Regions from separate parts of the Homo sapiens genome. Here regions 2 and 3 are each linked to region 1. Evidence: promoter capture Hi-C in 16 types of primary human blood cells and fetal thymus (Javierre and others, 2016). All regions are on one chromosome and are shown on one strand. The core of a region is centred on a gene start or on the middle of the fragment in contact, and the rest is flanking DNA. Distances in the headings are between cores, read along the strand shown.

Region 1 (3,785 bases), core at 1,116-3,615:
TTAATTCCGTGTGAATTCAGCATATGGAATTTCCAGTGATGTCAAAGAGTTGTTGGCAGTATTAACTGAGTTGACATAAAGCTTTTAGTTCAGTGCCTAGATCATAGTATTTAATAAATGTTAGATGTTATTATTGACAGCTTAGACTGTGAGCTCCTCAAGGGCAGGAATTTTTATTTTTTCATCCCTCTGTGCCCACTCTGTGGTCTAGCACACAGTGGGTATGTCATTAATCCCTTTATGTCTTGACAAACAAGACGTCGAACCCTAGCCTCTAGGAAGCTAGGACATTCCATACAAACTAAAATGCATTTTATTGGTCTAGATTCTAGTCTAAAAGATTCAGTGAATAGTCTTATCTGGATAGCATGGAACTTTATGCAGCATGCATGCAATGTGAATTCTACCAGGCTGAAATTACCTTAGCAGCCTCCCTTTCTTTTATTCTGTAGCATCAGCGAATGGCTTTGTTATTTTTTTTTTTTAACTTGCGAAAGATACAATTTCAAAGCGATAGTCTTATGCCACCCTTGAAATTAAGATTTAAGTTCTTCTGTAAATTAATGTTTAACAATATTTGTAAAGGGGCATTACGCGAAAGAATTTAATAATAACCTTTTCAGGATATTATCTACAACTGTGCTGGTCTCAAGACCAAAGGGACAGTAAGCCTCTCCCCTCCCCGCAAGGGGAAGTACTTTGTAGGAATCCACAGGGGTGACTTTTAATATATTCTCATAAAGAATTGGCCTGGTGTACACCAGCCAGCCAGTAGCTGGAAATGCTGGTTTGGGAGTCTGGCCACTTCTGTGGTGGTGGGTCTGAAAAAATTTACTTCTGTTAACAACAACAACAACAACAACAACAAGACATAGAGGTCTTACAGCTTTCCAAGTCACGTTTTGGAAACACATACTCTGCTTCCTTCTCTATGCGTATTGATAAAAGTGAAAGAAATACTAGTGTCTTTTGTTTTATGTATGTATATTTCAAAACATTTAATTCAGGCTCTTAGTTTATTCCTTCGAATTTCTAAATTCAACCAAACTTCAAAAACCGCAAAAAGAAAAAAAAAAATCTCACCTTTTCAAAGAATTGGACAAAGCTTTTTGCACGTGACTGATCACTGGGAGAGCAGGTAATTTGTGTTAAACAACGGACTGACATGCTAGCCCCCAGGCGTTTTCCTAAGAGGAGTCGTGGCAAGAACACAGTTCCTGATGCAGCCACCTTCCCCCAAAGTGGACTCGATTGCACATTCCTGCAGTGGCTCTGACAAGGGGGCAGAAGCTCGTCCCACATTCACACTCTCCTGATTCCGAGAAACAGGGGAGAAAACCCCTCGCTGGCTGGCGGGGTTTCTGTTTCCTTGCAAACAGGGGTTTGTCCTTCTGCTGAACTTTCACCTCCCGAACTCGCCTTCTTTCATTGGACAAAGTGCAGAAAGAAAGAGGAGAGACCGAGGGAGGACGGGAGAGAGGGAGAAAGGGGGTTGAAAACACCACCTCCCACCCCGCTCTCCTTCAACTGTCACTGATGGCAAAACACTTTCACTTTTAACTGGAGGAAACTCACATTCTAGCCTGTCCTCTCCCCTCCCTTTCATATTTTTAGCTCAGAATCCAAGCAAATAGCCATCGCATTCCCATCTTCGTCCCTAGTTAACACTCTCCCTTCTCGTTTTTTCCGCTGTCTGAATGGGCCCCCCATTTCCCATCTCCTGAGGAATCTCCCCCTCCGCCCCCCTGCCCCTTATTTTCCAGGTCTTTCCTGCCAGATCCCTCTGTTGCCAGGGACTGCTCTGGCGTTCCCTTCCTCTCTCTGGTCCGCGGGGCTCTGCCTCCCTCTCCTCTTTCCAATCCTGCCTGGACGCCCCTCACTTCCCCCTCCCTGGATCCCTCCCCCCAACCCCCCCCCCCATTCTTTGGCAATTGCGATTTTTTTTTTCTGGGAGCCCGGTTGTTTACCCAGCAGGTGGATGTGACGTCAGGGACGCACAACAGCAAAAAATAACAACATCTCCCTCCGCGACGTGTTGGCCTCTCTCGCGCGCCTTATTTATTTATTTGTTCCGGGATGTCGGGGGGGAGGGGGGAGGGAGGAGGGGGGTGGGCGCCAGCGCCCCGGCGAACGGCAAAGAGGGAGCCGCTCCCGCTCGGGGGGCCGCTGGAGTGCCCAGCGGGGTGCGTGAAGCGGAGAGGGGACCCCTGCGGGAGGTAGAGGGTCGGGCCGGGGTGCGCCCCCGGGCCGGTGCTGCCCGCGCCTCTGCCGCCGCCGCCGCCGCCACCGGCGCTGGCTGGGCTCCGGGAAGCTAGTCCGGAGCGGAGGAATCTATTGTTATTTATTGTGTGGCGGTTGCACGCTGTACTCGCGGCGGCCCGGCCCTCGCCCGGGAGTGCGTGTGTGCGCGCGTGTGTGCGCGAGTGAGTGTGTGCGCGGGGTGCGCGCGCGGGCGGGAGTGGGCGCGCGCGGGGAAAGGCCCGAAAACACCTTAGTTTGCACCGAGAGACCATTTGCAGCGGGTGAGTTTGTATTTTTCCATTTCTGCTCCACTTTTTCCCAAGCCGCCTCCTGTCTTGTTTCCGCCACTTTAAACAACAACAACAACCAGCACAAAAAAAAAAAAAGAAAGAAAGAAAAAGAGAAAAAAAATGGAAAAAAAAAAACAACTACTTTCCACCTCCAGGCTCCACGTGCATCTCCCCCAGCCCTCCCCTCTCTTCCTCTCCCCCCCGGGTCGAGGCCCAGCTCTGGGATGGGTGGGGGCTGCGGGCCGGCGCGCGGGTGGAGGGAGCTCCGGCGGCGCCCGCACCCTTTGGGTTTATTTGCATAAGTCAAATGGGGGCGGGGGCGGTGGCGACTGTGAGGAGGCGAGATCGCCTGCCCGTAGGCCCCTTCACGCCTCTCTCTGCGCTCTCCACGATCGCCTAGGGGAGAGAAATCAATAAGCCCAGGCCGCCTGGCGCAACTTTCGATGTCCGGCGTTGGCGTCCGGTGGCCGCCCGGGCGCGGGGCCGGTGCGGGGTCCCGGGTCCTGGCCGCGGCGGGAGGGGGCGCGCGCCGGGCGCCTCCTAGGCCCAAAGTTTAGACTTGGAGCAAACTTTTCCCCTTCTTTCCCCGCGGGTGTGTGCCCCCTCGGTGCCCTTGAGCTGCCCCGCGGGCCCCAGCAAACTGACTGTGGTGCCTGGCCCTGGGCCCCGCACTGGGGAACTTCCCCGCTGCCACGCGCGCGTTACCCCGAGAGTCAGCGGCGAGGAAGCTCTCCCGCCACCCCCTCGGAGCCCGGAAAATTCAAACACGCACCTGCGCACCCCCAGCCAGACACGCACCCCTACGCGCGCTCGGCCTCCGCTTTCCCGAGACGAGTCCGCAACAGCCGTGGCCAGATCCACGGGTGGGTGCGGGAGCCGGATGCGCTGCGAGGAGTCGCCGCGCCCGGATCTCTCTCCCACCATCACACACATTTTCTGATTTTACCCCCCTCTGAAGCTTGGGGGACGGGGAGATTTCCCAAGCTCCGATTTGTCCTGCGTCGCGCGCGTGTCGCCTCGTCCCTCCGGCCCTGTCCTGGCGGCCGATGGCTCTCCGTCCCTCGCTTGCGCGCAGCCTTCCTCCCGAGCTCCCTGCGCTCTATTCCTGTCCCGCCGAGACGACTCCCTGGAGCCAGCGAGCCGAGGCGGCGTGCGCTTCGAGTGGGGACCACGGCGGTGGCGGCGGCGCCGGGAGCCGAGGAGTTTGCCAGTTGCCGCGGGGTCGCGGTCATTTGCTGCCTCCGCCTTCCCTCG
Region 2 (3,823 bases), core at 790-3,289, 1.0 Mb after region 1:
TCCCATTGCCCAACAGGAGCCCAGAGACAAGGTGGGAGGGGACTACACAAGAGGGTGCATAACAAATGTGGTTCATCGGGAGTAACCAGCATGACATCCGACCATAACATGGGATGTCATATAGCTGTTATATCACAGAACAAGATTAGAACTTAGGCCTCCTTAATGTGGTTTTCTTCCCATCAGACCAAGCTGACTCTCCAATGTCACATTTATTCTTCCTTTAGTAACATTAAGATGGCTCATTATTTTAACACTGGTCAAAGTGTAGGCCATAGTAGAGGACAGTTACTACTGCATATTGCTCTTTAAAATACCAGTTAAATTTACTGCCCAGGTTTAAATTCTGGTCATTTTTACCTAAGAAGGAAATCTGAGTCAATCATCTTTGTTAGTTTTGAAAAACCTTTATTTTCAACAATATGAAACCTTACAAAGACCCAAGACTGATTTTGCTATCATCTTACATTATAGGTGCAACATTTGGAGGAAGAACTATGTTTCTTATGTTTCTACATTAAGTAGTTGAGGAAACTGTGACTCAGAAATGCTGAATTCCTTCTCAGGAGCTCATGGTGCATGATAAAGCCTGGCTTCTTACTTCAGAAGATTCTTGCTCTGGAGGAACTCATGGTCTTAGGAACATATTTGCATACAGCCTTCTACAGCAGCTTAACTTAGATCTTCTCCACCTCGTGATTGTTTATAGCACACATTGATGATGTTCTATATTTTGGCATTTGAGGAATTTCATTTTTCACAATTTAGCACAAAGGATACCCCAAATCAGCACTTCTCTAGCTTCCTGAACTCAGAATCCCTTTATGTTCCTAAAAATTATTAAGAACCCCAAAGAATTTCTGTTATATGAATTATACTAATCAATACGTACCATGCTAGAAATTAAAGCTGAGAGGTTTTTTTTTTAAATCACAAGAACGCAAAGCATACATTCCATTAGCTGTCAGAATGATGACATCAACACACGTCATATTACCATTGTACTCCACTGTACTCTCAGGAGGCAGTAAGAGTGAAAAATGCAAATCAAATCTTTTTATTATTGTGAATATAACTTTGACCTAGCAAACCCTAGAAAAGGCCTCAGAGACACTCAAAGCTGCTAGACCACATTTTAAGAGGTGTCTTCTAAACAATTTTCCCCCTGAAAAATAATACATAATGCTGGATGAAAATTTTAAAGATCTGTTTTGAATTCACGGCTAAGCTGATAAGAAATTAAGCGCTACTTTTAGAGAAAGAAACTGGAGTGAAAGCACAAACCCAGAGAGGTAAGGCAAAGTAAGGGAGGCTTGGGGACGGCTGTTCATTCTTTGCATGTGACCAACAGATTTTACTTTATCAGATGTGTAGAGAAGAGGGGTCAAGAGATTAGAGCTGGCACACAGAGGTTAATTTGATAGAAGACGACTTCACTAGGCTCTTAGCATTAGGCCGAGACCTCAAAGGATAATACTGTAACTCAGTGAAAGGGTGAATGAGGGAGAAAGCCTGGCTCATAGAAAAAGATATGAGAAAATTTCTTTCAATATTGGTTTTGAATGGAAGGGGGAAAAAATTCCTCTATAGGCTCATAACCACAGGCTTGGCCTTATGAATTTTAGCCTATTCTCCCAAGCTGGGGGCGCTTCCAGGCACCTGATAAATACAAATGCAAATCCTACCTGGGGGAATGTACCTGTAACTCAGACTTCAAAGAATTCCCACACTTAAGTGTTATTAAAAATAAGCTCATGATTTTAAAAGAAATCATGAAATAAATAAGGAAACAAATTGCTGAGTCAAATGGATGAAGACCAGAACTTTAAAGAGTATGGATAAGAATGTTTAACATGATTATAAAAATAAGAGATGGTTTGAAAATATGTCTAAGGAATAGGCAGATTTGAAAGGAATAAAACAGAATTTTCAAATAAAATAATCAAATAGATCTTTCAGAAATTGTAATACTTGAAGTTAAATAGTATAAGAGAATATGGATTTGTTGGAATTCTCACATACTGAGAGGACTGCAAATTGGTAAAACCACTTTGGAAAACTGTTTGGCAGCATTCACTAAAGCTGAAAAACATGTACCCTATGACAAAGCAAATTCTTTAGGTATAAACCCAATAAAAATGCTCAACATATGCTCACCAAAATAAATGTGCAAGAAACTTTATAGCAGCACTATTTATAATGGTTATAAATGTGTGTTCATTTTATGAAAATTCATCTAGTTATAAATTTAAGATTTCTGCATTTTACCAATCATGCCTTTCACCATGGTGGGTTCACCATGGAAACCCACCTCTTGCATCAGCATGACTGGGATGTGAGACATGGAGTCGAAGGAGATCATTTTGGAGCTTTAAGATTTGACTGTCCTGCTGGATTTCAGACTTACATGGGGCCTGTAGCCCCTTTGTTTTGGCCAATATCTCCCATTTGGAATGGCTGCATTTACCCAATGGCTGTACCCCTATTTTATCTAGGAAGTAAATAACTTGCTTTTGATTTTACAGGCTCATAGGTGGAACAGATTCATCTTGTCTCAAATGAGACATTGGACTGTGAATTTTTGAGTTAATGCTGAAATGAGTTAAGACTTTGGGGGACTGTTGGGAAGGCATGATTGGTTTTGAAATGTCTGTTTGATATGGTTTGGCTCTGTGTCCCCACCCAAATCTCATCTTGTGGCTCCCATAATTCCCATGTATTGTGGGAGGGACCCAATGGGAGATACCTGAATCATGGGGACGGGTCTTTCCTGTGCTGTTCTTGTGGTAGTGAATAAGTCTCACAAGATCTGATGGTTTTAAAAAGGGGATTTTCCCTGCACAAACGGTGCTCTTCTCTTGCCTGCCACCATGTGAGACATGCCTTTCACCTTCCGCCATGATTGTGAGGCCTCCCCAGCCACATGGAACCATAGTCTGATAAATTTCTTTCTTTTGTAAATTGCCCAGTCTTGGGTATGTCTTTATTAGCAGTGTGAAAATGGACTAATGCAGTAAATTGGTACTGGTAGAGTAGAGCGTTGCTAAAAAGACACCCAAAAATGTGGAAGTGACTTTGTAACTGTGTAACAGGCAGAGGTTGGAACAGTTTGAGGGGCTCAGAAGGAGACAGGAAAAAGTGGGAAAGTTTGGAACTTCCTAGAGACTTGTTGAATGGCTTTGACAAAAATGCTGATAGTGATATGAACAATAAGGTCCAGGCTGAGGAGGTCTCAGATGGAGATGAGGAACTTGTTGGGAACTGAAGCAAAGATAACTCTTGTTATGTTTTAGCAAAGAGACTGGTGGCATTTTGCCCCTGCCGTAGAGATTTGTGGAACTTTGAACTTGCAAGAGATAATTTAGGGCGTCTGGTAGAAGAAATTTCTAAGCAGCAAAGCATTCAATAGGTGACTTGGGTGTTTTAAAAGCTATTCAGTTTTAAAAGGGAAGCAGAGCATAAAAGTTTGGAAAATTTGCAGCCTGTCAATGCAAAAGAAAAGAAAATCCCATTTTCTGAGGAAAAATTCAAGCTGGCTGCAGAAATTTGCATAAGTAACAAGTTGAGGAATGTTAATCACCAAGACAATGGGGAAGATGTCTCCAGGGCATGTCAGAGACCTTTGCAGCAGCCCCCATCACAGGTCTGGAGGCCTAGGAGGATAAAGTGGTTTCATGGGTCGGGCCCAGGTTCCCCGGGATGTGTACAGCCTAGGGACTTGGTGCCCTGCATCCCAGCCACTCCAGCTGTGGTTGAAAGGGACCAACATAGAGCTCGGGACATGGCTTCACAGGGTGCAAGCCTCAAGTCTTGGCAGCTTTTA
Region 3 (3,780 bases), core at 179-2,678, 1.1 Mb after region 1:
CAAACCCATTCTTTTGTAAATCCCCCCTTTTCTTTTTCTTTTCTTTCTTTCTTGACAAGGAATTGCTACTCCTGCATAGATAGTTACTGAGTCAGTTCTTCCCAGCACTAACTCCAAGATATTTACCACCAACTATTGCTTACTCATGATATTTAAAATGCTAGTATGTAGTGTCTTCTGGGATATTCTCGTTGCATTTCAACTGCACCCAGTGACACTGATTCTTACCAAACTATCAATACCACAGGTGTGTCCGATTAACATAGGCTTTCTAGAGGCTTTTAAAAAAGGCTGTTAAGCATTATTTGACATCTTTCTTTAATGGGTTACATTCTGGATGAGAAAAGTTTAGGTGGAATCTTTCATTTTTCAGTCCTCAAAATTTGTCTTTCCCTTAGAATTTATTCTCTATTCTTTCTCTCTCTCCTTCTCTGTTTCTCTCTGTCTCTCCCCCCCCCCTTTAAAACTATATTCTCTTTCCCCACGTAAAACCGCTTCACCTCCAGGAAAACGATGGCTATATTGAAATAAGATCACATGACTCTAACCTGCTGTAAATATTGCCTTATTTTTCAGCCATGCATCTGGATCCCTATACAAAGATATATATGTATATAACTTTATCCTGGTTTAGTGACATAACTGTACATTAATCTATCTCTCTGCTTTCCTTAATAAATTTATTTTTAAAAAATTGGCTGTTTTCACTTAAAATTTAAGTAAGCAGCAAGGGCAACAGACAAAGAAAGAGGCTTGAAATTTGAAAATGCATATTTAGATGGAAAATAAAGCTTGCTTAGCAGATATCATTCTTTGTTATTAATTTACTGTAGAAAAATGTAGGAAAAGTCAATGCTGGAAAAGAAAGTATAGTGAGAACTTCCAGGAGGAAGCGTGTATTGCCAAAAGAAAAAAAATGAGTCCTGATCCAAAAAAAAAGTCCATTATGACACAAGCCACTATTTTCTCCCTTCCAATCTTCAGCTTTTCCTCACTTAGCTAAAACACAGCCTCAAAGTCCCGCTCAGCTCTGGCACGTGGGACAGGCAAAGGCAACAGAAGGACACGAACTGGGGGGATGGAATCTCTTTGGCATTCTTGTGTTCTTTCACATCTTGACTCTCAATCATTCAATCATCTTTGGACAAAGGTCAGCACTAAATTGTCTGCTGTGTATGGTCAACAATTATTTTCTAGTAGATCTATTTATTTCATTTCTGATGAATAGTGCCTGCTGCCCCACACATGATCAAAGATAAGAATTCTGATACTTTGGCTGTATAAAGACTTACATATTAGGAATATTAGAAACACCAGACTCAAATTTGAATTCTGCCTCTGGTAGTTACCAACTGTGTGACTCAGAGGAGTTAGTAGGATTCTCTTGTCTCTAGTTTTTTGTAAAATATTAATAACAAACGGTACTCCCTTTATAAGGTTGACTGTGGGGATTAAGGGAGTTGACGACTATTAGAGTTGGAAACTCGAAGTTACTCTGAGTAAAGTGGGCTAGGTAGAAGGCAGTAAATGGCAACTGGCATGCAGTCTCTGATTTGAAGGGACTGGTGGTGTCTGTGACAAACTTGAGACTTTCTGTCCCTCTAAAGAGGCAGCTGTTCCTATTTGGCTCCAGTGAGTTTTTGCAATGGAAAAAATGTGGACCTGGTGTTGCCAGGTTTTCCGGGAAGCTGGAAATCCGGACTTTTATGTGAAACCTCACAATTTTTAGTTTTTGGCAATTAATTCAAATTTAAAGCACTGTGCAAGCCAAACAAAACACATCTGCAGGCCAAATAAGCGGAGGGAGGCACCCGTTGTGACCTCTGATGTATGTGAACATGTTTGTAACAGAACCTGCCTCAGTATAGATATTCCATAAATATTTGCCTCGTTTTTTCATTGCATGTGATATCCAACATGAGGAAAGAAAAATAATCAATTTGAGCTTCTTAGAAAATCATCAGATTTCTCACTCTTAAGGATCAGATTTATTACTTAAGTCATATATTCATATGTTTAGTCTTATCCACCGTTATGTTAAAATGCTTAACTTGGGAAAAGCTTATACTTTGGAGAATTTTATTGGGTCCTGTGACTTTGTAACAGAAGTTTTAATTTTTGTTTGAAAACATATATTGAAAATATAGTGAAGACAATTCCGAATCATCTCAACAGAAATTCACATTTATTTTTCAATTTTTTTAAAAAATAATTTTTTAACTGGCAAATAAAAATTGTTTGTATTTATGGTATACAACATGATGTTTTGAAATACTGCATTGTGGAATGGCTAAATCAAGCATATGTATTACCTTACATACTTATCTTTTTTTTTTTGTGGAGAAAACATTTAAAATCCACTCTCTTAGTAATTTTCAAGTATACAATACATTTTTATTAACTATAATCATCATGTTGTGCGATAGATCTCTTGGACTTATTCCTCCTGTCTAACTGAAATTTTCTATTTTTGGGCCAACAGCTCCCCAAACCTCCCACTCCCCAGCCTCTGATAACCACAGGAAAATTCACATTTCTGATGTTGGCCTGAGTTCCAGTAAGTGAGCAACTCTAGCCTGGATTTTTCTCTTTGTCCTCAGAGGAGCAAGACCTGGTTTTAACTGCTACATCTTCATATTGCTCACTCCTTAAGTAGTTTAACTTACTTTTTAACTGTTACATGCCAACAAAACAGGTTGCTTAATTGGTTTGACCTTTCACAGTATTTTTTAATTTTTCAATCTTAGTTTCATAGTTCCATCTGGCCCTTTAAAACGACATCTGGTTAACTGTACTTAACCAGCTGATCACTGTACAGTTATTTTTAAATGTAATGTATGCTTAAACAGATGTTATTTTTATAGATGTGGATCTAAACTGCACTTGTGTACGTGCTATGTCTGCATAAACTCTTTCTGCAATTCAAATGTTGACACCCAAAATTACAAGCCAGAATGCTTATGAACTCCACTATTATGGTACTGCACTTTTGTGCTGCTTGTAAGGTAAACATCAATTCAGTTCTTTTTTTCTTTCTTCATTGCACATAAATAAAACATTAGCATTTAGTTTATAAAGTGATGAACATTTTGCTGTGTTGGGTTTAGCTTTATAAATACAACTGCTGTCAGCAAGAAAAAAGGATTTATTGAATAAATAATAAGAAAGCTAAGGGAAAATGAAAATATATATATTATGCAAAACATGGTGTCTGTCAACAGGTCACAAAGGGGCTTCAGTGCTCTTGGTGTGGCTGTTGGAGATAATTCCATCTCTGGAGTGCTGGCCCTGAAGCATTCTGGACCTCCACCTCATGGTAAGTGTCTTAGATTTAATCTAGGAAGCATGCTATAGAGAATAAATTTATTTTGTAGATCTCTGAATGCTTAATTGTCCAGAGCATAATTAACATTTAGATCAATTACCATGTCTTTTTACATGAAAAACATCAAGAACACATGATAACAAGGAAACCTAAATGGTCATTCAATCCTACAGTTTGATTTTAAAGTCTTATCCTATCAGGAAAAGAAAAGAGAAGAAAATGACAAGCAGTTTCCACACAGATTGAAAGGTTTTGCAGTCATGAATGGATCAGAACATTGGGTGTACCTTGTGTCAGACAGAACACAATCTCACCAACTGAGAGATCTCCAAAGAACATTACAATGGGAAGTGCGCCCACGACAAGAGGTTGAATCCTCGTTGAGACAAAGAAAGTGGCCACAGTTGAAAATATTTTACCGAGAACTTTAAAAGTATTCTCAAGGTTAAAAATTG

What was found. Contacts are between HindIII fragments. The CHiCAGO score rates a contact against its expected background, and 5 or more counts as called.
Region 2: a contact is called between a fragment that was not itself captured here and the fragment with the promoter of FOXP1 in region 1, in 10 of 17 cell types (naive CD8 T cells, activated CD4 T cells, naive CD4 T cells and 7 more). The highest score is 18.5, in naive CD8 T cells.
Region 3: a fragment that was not itself captured here is called in contact with the fragment with the promoter of FOXP1 in region 1 in 1 of 17 cell types (naive CD4 T cells); the score reaches 5.0 in naive CD4 T cells.

The regions. Positions count from the first base shown.
Region 1 is chr3:71,582,308-71,586,092 of GRCh38, reverse strand. It overlaps FOXP1 (forkhead box P1), which reads left to right and starts at 2,365. Exons shown (of 21, transcript NM_001349338.3): 1 at 2,365-2,522. FOXP1-DT (FOXP1 divergent transcript) reads right to left here and starts at 1,150. Exons shown (of 1, transcript NR_182289.1): 1 at 1-1,150. RefSeq lists an enhancer at 1,881-2,175 and a silencer at 2,253-2,492. The HindIII fragment of the contact is 2,384 bases long and covers 1,108-3,491 here.
Region 2 is chr3:70,551,137-70,554,959 of GRCh38, reverse strand. No RefSeq gene overlaps it. Among named protein-coding and RNA genes, the nearest start is that of MDFIC2, 240 kb to the right of the region's middle. The HindIII fragment of the contact is 6,674 bases long and covers 1-3,823 here.
Region 3 is chr3:70,516,453-70,520,232 of GRCh38, reverse strand. No RefSeq gene overlaps it. Among named protein-coding and RNA genes, the nearest start is that of MDFIC2, 210 kb to the right of the region's middle. The HindIII fragment of the contact is 1,270 bases long and covers 794-2,063 here.